Linked DNA regions of Homo sapiens: region 2 is linked to region 1. Evidence: promoter capture Hi-C in 16 types of primary human blood cells and fetal thymus (Javierre and others, 2016). All regions are on one chromosome and are shown on one strand. The core of a region is centred on a gene start or on the middle of the fragment in contact, and the rest is flanking DNA. Distances in the headings are between cores, read along the strand shown. Region 1 holds the start of RXRG (retinoid X receptor gamma). Region 2 has its middle 49 kb from the start of MIR3658.

The links. Contacts are between HindIII fragments. The CHiCAGO score rates a contact against its expected background, and 5 or more counts as called.
Region 2: a fragment that was not itself captured here is called in contact with the fragment with the promoter of RXRG in region 1 in 1 of 17 cell types (naive B cells); the score reaches 5.8 in naive B cells.

What each region holds. Positions count from the first base shown.
Region 1 is chr1:165,443,038-165,447,015 of GRCh38, reverse strand. RXRG (retinoid X receptor gamma) reads left to right here and starts at 1,890. Exons shown (of 10, transcript NM_006917.5): 1 at 1,890-2,171. The coding sequence starts at 2,123. The HindIII fragment of the contact is 7,493 bases long and covers 1-2,926 here.
Region 2 is chr1:165,955,311-165,959,288 of GRCh38, reverse strand. No RefSeq gene overlaps it. Among named protein-coding and RNA genes, the nearest start is that of MIR3658, 49 kb to the right of the region's middle. The HindIII fragment of the contact is 665 bases long and covers 1,457-2,121 here.

The sequences.
Region 1 (3,978 bases), core at 641-3,140:
ATTTTGGACAACAGAAGCAGGATCCTAAAAGATTTGGGATGATGAATGAAGCCAAAAAGTTTTAACTTCAGAGGAATATAGGAAGCATTTCATGTAGGTCCCAAAACCAATTGCCCAAGGATGGGATGAAGAATATGCATAAGAGAACACAACTTAGGGGAGGTAGGGGTGGGGAGATTTTTATCGAGTTAGTTCTACATGAATTAACATGCAGAGCTGCCCACCTAATGCAAGTGAGCAAATGGTCCTCCTGTATTCTATATTACTTATGTCCACTGGACTCTCATCCCAGCAACAGTCAAGGCAGCTCTGGGCTCTCCAAAGCTCTTTACAGTGAAGGCCTGGATATTTCTTCCTCCTTTGTGACATGCTTTTGCTTTGATTCCCCATTTTGGCCTCCTCCTTTGTCATCATGACTTTGTTCCTGACTCTGGTCTTTTATTCTACGTTTTTGTTTTGGCTTCTCCTAGCATTTGAATCTTGATTTTTTACTCTGGGACCCTGATTTGACTTACCTCTCTGGCTCTCTATGTCTTATGCTGCATCAGGAGAAAATCTCTTATCTTTTTTCCAGCCCAACAGAGCTCAGCCCATGAAACGGACCTTCAATGGGTATGTTGACAGCACCCCATCACCGTGCCAACACATATACCATGAGGAAAAGGTTTGGACCATATCTGGAGTATTGCATCCAAGTCTGGCCAACCCCCTTCCTCACTGTGAGGGTATCTATGTAAACTGAAGTACATTATTAGAAAAAGGATAGGTTGGGAATAGACATGAACCCTTGGTGATACATAGAATTACTGAAAGAGCCAGAGATGCCTAGGGAAAGGGGGATTATGGGCACAGCAGATCAATCTCAGGATTTGCAGAGGATCCCACTGTGAAAGACTTTTTTGTCTTTCAGGCTTCTCTTGTGTGGCCCCTGGGAGCAGTCTAGCACCTGTGGGCAGAAGCTGTAGGGAAAAGGAGCAGATTTTATCTCTATAAGAAACTTTCTTGTGGTGAAAACTATCTAGAAATGGAATGAGAAAGTGGTGAGCTCCCCATTATTGGAGGTGTTCAAGTATAGGCTGAGCGGTGACTTGTCACGAAAACTGTATGACAGACCCAAACATCAACGGGGTGCTTAGATTCTTTGATCTCGGGTCAGTTCCACACAAGACAGGCTCTGTGTTAGTGAGGACCCAGTGGTGTTTTTGAACAGGCGGCAGGATAACAATGGTATATAAAATAAATGCAGAGAAAGACCTCCACATCAAGCCAACCCCTCCTCCCTACCTGTAAGTTTTCCACCTGAGTGAGCTCTGGCTCCAGCTGCACTTGTCAAACTCCCATTGTTAGAGCACAGATAAATGCTTCCGGCCACCCAAGCAGGAGAGGCCCACCTCAACTTAAGGGCTACTCTATTTTAGTTTTCCGTAGCTGGAGATTGAGTATCACGCTTTTCTAATCTTGTGCTTCTGAAAGGGCCCTGTTCTCTCTTGAACCCCACCCCCTCCTCCTTTCACAGATCAAATACCAAGTACATTGGACAGATAGAAGTTCGAATGAGAAAATGCATTTTAATAAAATCCCATTGATTTTTGTGGATGTAAGTCAAGGAACAGGCACCTAAAGAGTCTTCCATCCCCTGCCGTCTCCCGCCTCTCTCCTGACCTACACCGGGCGGTCATACATCGATTGGCTTCCTAGATAATAGATCGTGCCACCCGGTAGGGACCTCTGGGGACGCGCCGGGAGCTGGAAGAGTCGCACGCAGCAGCCCAACCCTGAGTTAATCAAACTAGCAACAGGATCTCAAGCAGCAGCGACGGCGGTGGCAAGAGTAGCGGTGACGGCGGCGGCGGCGGCGGCGGCAGCATTATGCGTGATTACTGACAGGCACCAGCTGCTGCCGCCACAGCCGTCTCAAACGCACTATGTGGACTCTCCGATCTAGAGGCAGATTCCTGACTAATCCCAGAGGGCTGGCCCAGCCTGTGCTCCCCGGGCTGCTAGGAAGCGATGACCACTCTTGTTAGCCCAAGTTGAAGAAAGCCGGGCTGTGCCTGGGAGCCGAGAGAGGCGGTAATATTTAGAAGCTGCACAGGAGAGGAACATGAACTGACGAGTAAACATGTATGGAAATTATTCTCACTTCATGAAGTTTCCCGCAGGCTATGGAGGTAAGTATCTCCCTTGGGCTTCACTGCGTGGACCTGTATGAGAGACTGAGAAGAAATTGGGAAATACGAATGACTGGATTAGTATTGAATTAAAAGGAGAACATATATGTTTATATGCATATATAGTGTGTATATAGCGTTTCAGCGTGTGTGTGCACGCGTGCATGAGAGAGGAGAGGAGGAAAGAATGGTCTGTAGGTGAGGATACGTTTGCATATCAGAATGAGGATACGGGGATATTCTAAGGAGAGAGTAAACCAACATGCTTGAGAATGTGTCTGAGACAAAGATAGAATAAGAGCATTGTTATAACCCAGTGTGTTTGTGCGGGTGTGAAAAGTGGAAGAGTTAACGGGGAATTACTATGATGTTCCTATTAGCCAACTTGTAATGAGAAAAAATGTGATTAAAAAGGTTTTGCCTATCTTGAGGGTTCCTGGGATACTTTGTAACAAGGGCATGATTGTTTTACTCAAAAGCAGATTTCCCTTTAATTGGATTTTTAAAAAGAAAACATAGTGCTTTAATTTGCTACTGTGTTTTCCTTCCCCTGTTTTCTTTCCTTTGATTTGCTAATAGCCTCTTCTCTCCTCCCCTGCTGCTGCCCCCAATTCTACTGCAAGAGTTGCTGCAATCACTTCCACTCTGGGGGTAGAGATCTGGGGATGGGGGGTTGGGGCTCTTAGAGAATTGGCAAACTGAAGATTCAAGTCACCGTGCCAGGCAGGGCAGCCCAGTCACACTTCACAGAAGCTTCCGGAGACTAGGTCCTCAGGCTGCCTTAACGCCCAAGCACATCCGTCCCAAGGATCCCTTGATTTAGTGACAGAAACAGTACAGCCGCCCAGCTCTGAGTAAATGGAAGCAACAGCTGACCAACTGGCCTGTCGCTTGTCAGTTGGAGGCATGCAGCTTATGTTGCTGGGAGCCAAAGAAAGATTCTGGCAGGCAAGACAGCAGAAATTCTTATAAGGTTTTGAAAATTGAAAAGTCCCTGCTCTCCAGACTTCCTCCGTGGACCAATTCATCTGAAGGCTTGGGACTAAAGCTTGCCTAACTTGGCTGGGCAGAACCCCCTGGGAGGCATGGTGACACACTGCAAGGTAGAAGTGATCTCTGTCACCAGGAGGTGTTAGACCTGGGAGTTTGCACATTCATTCAGGGTAGTTTTTATGAGGCAGGCATGGTGTTGGGCACTGGGAATACAAATATGAATGAGACACAGTCTCTGCCCTTTGGGACTGGGGCAGGCTTGTTACACAGGCACATTATAATACTGCATGATGTGTGTAATAGCAAACGTAGGTTGTACTTGGACTTGGGGTGAGGGCCATGGAAATGTTCCCGAGGTGATGTTCAAGTTCTTTGGGCCAGTCTGATGACAGAGTGAGAGCGGTGGCCAATGCTGTGACCTGGGCATTTGATCTCTAGTCTATGGTTGGGCTCCAGATGTGAAAAGCCTCCTCAATTCCCACCTCAGTCCCATTCAGAGCTGAGAATTGCTTTTTCCTTTACATCTTAGTTCATTTGTAAGAGGTGCATGCTCATTTTCAGCCAGATTCGTGGGCCCCCCAAGGTCTGTGAGACTGTGGCTTCATTAATGCCAAAGAGACCCTTGGAGACAGTTGGGGTGAATAAAAGGGTTGAAGCTAGAAGGATTTAGGGAGAGAACTAAAGTAAGAGCCAGAGAAAGAAGATCTAGTTAAAATTCCATGGGGGCTGGAATCTTGGAATGTTAGCATCCTAAGGACCTGAAACAGCATCTTAGGCTCTCATCTTATAGATGTGTAAACTGAGGCTCAAAAGA
Region 2 (3,978 bases), core at 540-3,039, 510 kb before region 1:
AATAGGGCATTACAGGCCCTACTAATACTTACCAAACAGACTCATGGGATACTAGCCCCAAAAGGACTTTAGAGCTCATCTAGTCCAACTGTCTGGTCTTACAGATGATGAAAACAGATGTCAGGAATGTGAAATGACCCTCCTAGGACTAGACAGCCAGTAAGAAGCAGAGGTAAGGCTAGAGCTATGAGTCCCTTACTCCTGAGGTGTGTGACTTCTACCGCTCACAATTCTACCAAAAAATACATATATTGTCTTTTCTCCTCCCCAACACAAGTTCAACATCTTTGAGTTTTACATCTAGTAGACCTGATGCAGGAATCTCAGGTGCAGCGGTTATTAACAGCCCCTCTGGAATGAGCTAGGCTCTCTTCAGCCTTACTTTCCCTTTCATCCCTTCCCTGCCATCTTCCCTCTCATCCATCTTCTCCCCCAGCCTGGACCCCAACCCCAGGTTGCACTGCCCCTGCCCTCGCTCTTAACCAAAGCTTCTCTATGGCAGGTGAAACCATTAGAATGCTGCTGGGGCTGCCAAAAAGCAGAGAGTAACACAGACTGCGACACAGGCGGCCCAAGCGTGCCTTTGACTAGATAGAAATCAAGTTACCCCCCATGCAAGACAGAGGGGATTTATACCCCTGCCTGCATCTTGCCCTGCATGGCAGCCTCTGCCCACAGTGGGAGGAGGGGAAGCTAGAGAAGCAGCTAATTGCACTGGGGCCCTCTAATCCAGTCACAATTTAATCAAGCTTGGGGCTGTCAGTAGCAATGCTGTTTTCAAAAGACACTTTGATCTTATGAGTTGTCACTGCCAAGGCTGACCACATCAATCCTTCTGGAGCCAGAAGCTACCAGACTCATGTACCCATTAGACCAGGGACAGGAAAAAGGCCAGCACTCCAGACACACCAAACTAGATTGGAACAATTCCCAAATGTTTCATTCTATGGGGAAATTGGGCATAGGCCCCTTAGGGAAGAGCATGGCAAGAGGCACAAGCAGTTTTCAGGTTTCCAGGAAGTAAGTATTTTGCTTTATTTGTAATTATTAGCACTGATTGCTTTATTTCTAATTATTAGCAAAATAAGTATTTTGCTTTATTTCTAATTATTAGCATTTGAGTGACAAAATGTTTCCCAATAAAAAGGCCAAAACAGCTCTGCGGAGAGTATCTTTCTTTCTTCAAACTTAACTGGGAGAAATATAATAATTGACTTCCTCAGGCTCCGATCTATCCTCTCTCCAAATCCATCCTTCAAAAAATAAATTCATTTATCTATATTACAAATCCCGCTTAAGCACCCAATCCGTGGACCCCTGAAGAACAAATAAGAATAAGAACTGATCCCCGGGAGACCAACACGGAGCAGGCCATTTCAGTGCATTCAGTATGGACAATAACGTACCTATGAAGCAGGAAGCTCAAGGGGTCATGTCACTGTCAGATACAAAAGCTTAGAAGCCCACCCACACCCTCTCTACTTGTGGCAATCAATGATTTTCACCGATATCCCAGTCCTCTTCATTCCAGGCCCATGGTGGGAATGTCTTTCCCTCCTCTTCCCACGACCATATGACTAACCTTGACCAACAAAATGTGAGTGGAAATGACACACGACTTTTTTTTTTTTTTTCTGAGACGGAGTCTCACTCTGTGTCCCAGGCTGGAGTGCAGTGGCATGATTTCTGCTCACTGCAACCTCCATCCCCCAGGTTCAAGTGATTCTCACGCCTCAGCCTCCTGAGTAGCTGAGATTATAGGCACGTGCCACCATGCCTGGCTAATTTTTGTATTTTTAGTAGAGATGGGGTTTCACCATGTTGGCCAGACTGGTCTGGAACTCTTGACCTCAAGAGGTCCACCTGCCTTGGCCTCCCAAAGTGCTGGGATTACAGACATGAGCCACTGCACCCAGCTGACACGCTACTTTTAAGTGGAAGCCTTTAAGTACTGATGTGCAAATTTCTATGTCTTCTCCCTCCAACTGTCTCAAAGTACATTTCAGAAGGTGGGAGCTCCATCAGCATGATCCTGGAGTGAGAAGGACAGGAAGCAGGCTTCCTGCTGACCTGTGATGGACTTGTAGCATGAGCAAAAATTGAGCTTTGTTGATTTAAGCTTCTGAGGTTTTAGACTTATTTGTTTTTACAGCATAATATAGCTTACCCAAACTCCCTAGGCTGGCACTCGAGGACTTCCCATAAAGCAAAGCACCTATTCCTCTAGGCCTTTCTTTAATAATACTTCCATGAATTCTACACTGAAGCCAAACTGGTCTATCTACCATGTGCCAGCCATATCCAGACCATCTAACAAGCAGACCTTGTCTCATGCTAGTCCCTTTGCCCAAAATGCCCTCCTCCCATCTAAATCCTACTAACCTTATAAAATCTAGCTTAATAAATCCCTCCTCCAAGAGGCCTTCCTGAATGACCTAAGTTAGAAATGAATCCTGTGAATTATGATAGCCCTTTAAGCATCCCAGTCATGGGTATTTATCTTATAGAATTTTCTAGAATATTTGGCCATTTATTTGTCTGTGTCTCTGCTAGACGTAAACTCCTTGAGAATGGGGCTTTGGGGCTCATTGGCCTTCATGACCCACACTCCATGTAACCTGCATTTTGAGTGCCTTCCACATGGTAGTCAAATGTTATCATTTGCACAGGCTGGAACATTCCTTACAGTGCCTTTGAATCACTTTGTCTCATTTCTATAAAGAAAATGTGGTGAGCTCTCTCAGTTGCATTATGAACCTGAGCCACTGCTAAATCCAACCTCCCAGTTTTTATCTCAAATTTCTATTTTCTGGTCCACCTTCTTGGCCCTCATTATTTTCTTTTCACCTACATCCTCAACACTAGTAACTGGCTTTTTTTCAGAGGCCATTTTCCACCAAAGAACTAAACTATTATTTCAAGAGTCATGACTTCTGAGGGATCGAGCTGCAGGCATTTAGCAGTGAGCAAGCCTCCCTCACCAGGCAGGCAGCTTCCCTCTGCACCCAGCCTCTTAGCAAATGGAGCAAACCCAACATTGCAGGTTGCTGCACCACATGGACCTCTGGGGTACTTGGGAATATCTGAAACTGTAAGTGATAAATACTGTAACTCCCTCCTTGCAGGGTTCCTATGAGGATTAGAGACTAGCCAGAGCAATGCCTGGTACACAACAGGTATTCAATGAGTGACAGCCATTGTGTTAGAACAAAGCATCAGACCACACAAGGGCATATGTATGTCTGAACATAGTGGCCGTGGAAGATCTAAGGGATGGCTGGCAGGGCTTTGCTCTTCTCACCATGCCCCTCCAGCCCTGGCTCAATCTGTCACACACACGTAGTCTCCCCCAACGCTCTGTCCACTGTTTGAATTTCCAGTGTTAGAAAACCTATCTTGTATGTTTTAAAATACTATATCTGTCCAAGAAAGTCCCCTAGGACAATGATAAGTTTATGTGACAACTTCTATCATCTAACACATCATAGAAGATTCAGTAACCAGAGGCCAATCCAGGGAATGGAGCACAGGCTCAGGGACACTGTCCCATTGTTGGGATAATGTGGGAAGAGACCCACAAATACAGAAAGAGAACATGGACTTTTACAGAAAGAGACCCAGAAATACAGAAAGAGAACTTGGATCTTTACAGAAAAGATCTTGGAACTCATCTAGGTCCACCCCTTATCACATGTATGAGGATGCTGAGCCCAAGATATGTGAAGTGACTTGCCACAGCCCCAGATGCATTAATAAAAATGCTGGTTCCCAACTCCAGACCTCCTGATTCCCTGTTTACTGCTGCTCTTTCTACACTAGGGATCTCCTGGAGACAAAGGATGTTAGGCCCCAAAGATCATTTTGCTGGGTCCCAACCTGCTGCACCCTCACTGTCACCCTCTCCCCACTTGCCCTTTCCTATATCATCACCATTGACAGAAAATTTCAGTAATTAAAAAAAAAAACGTTGGTGAGGAG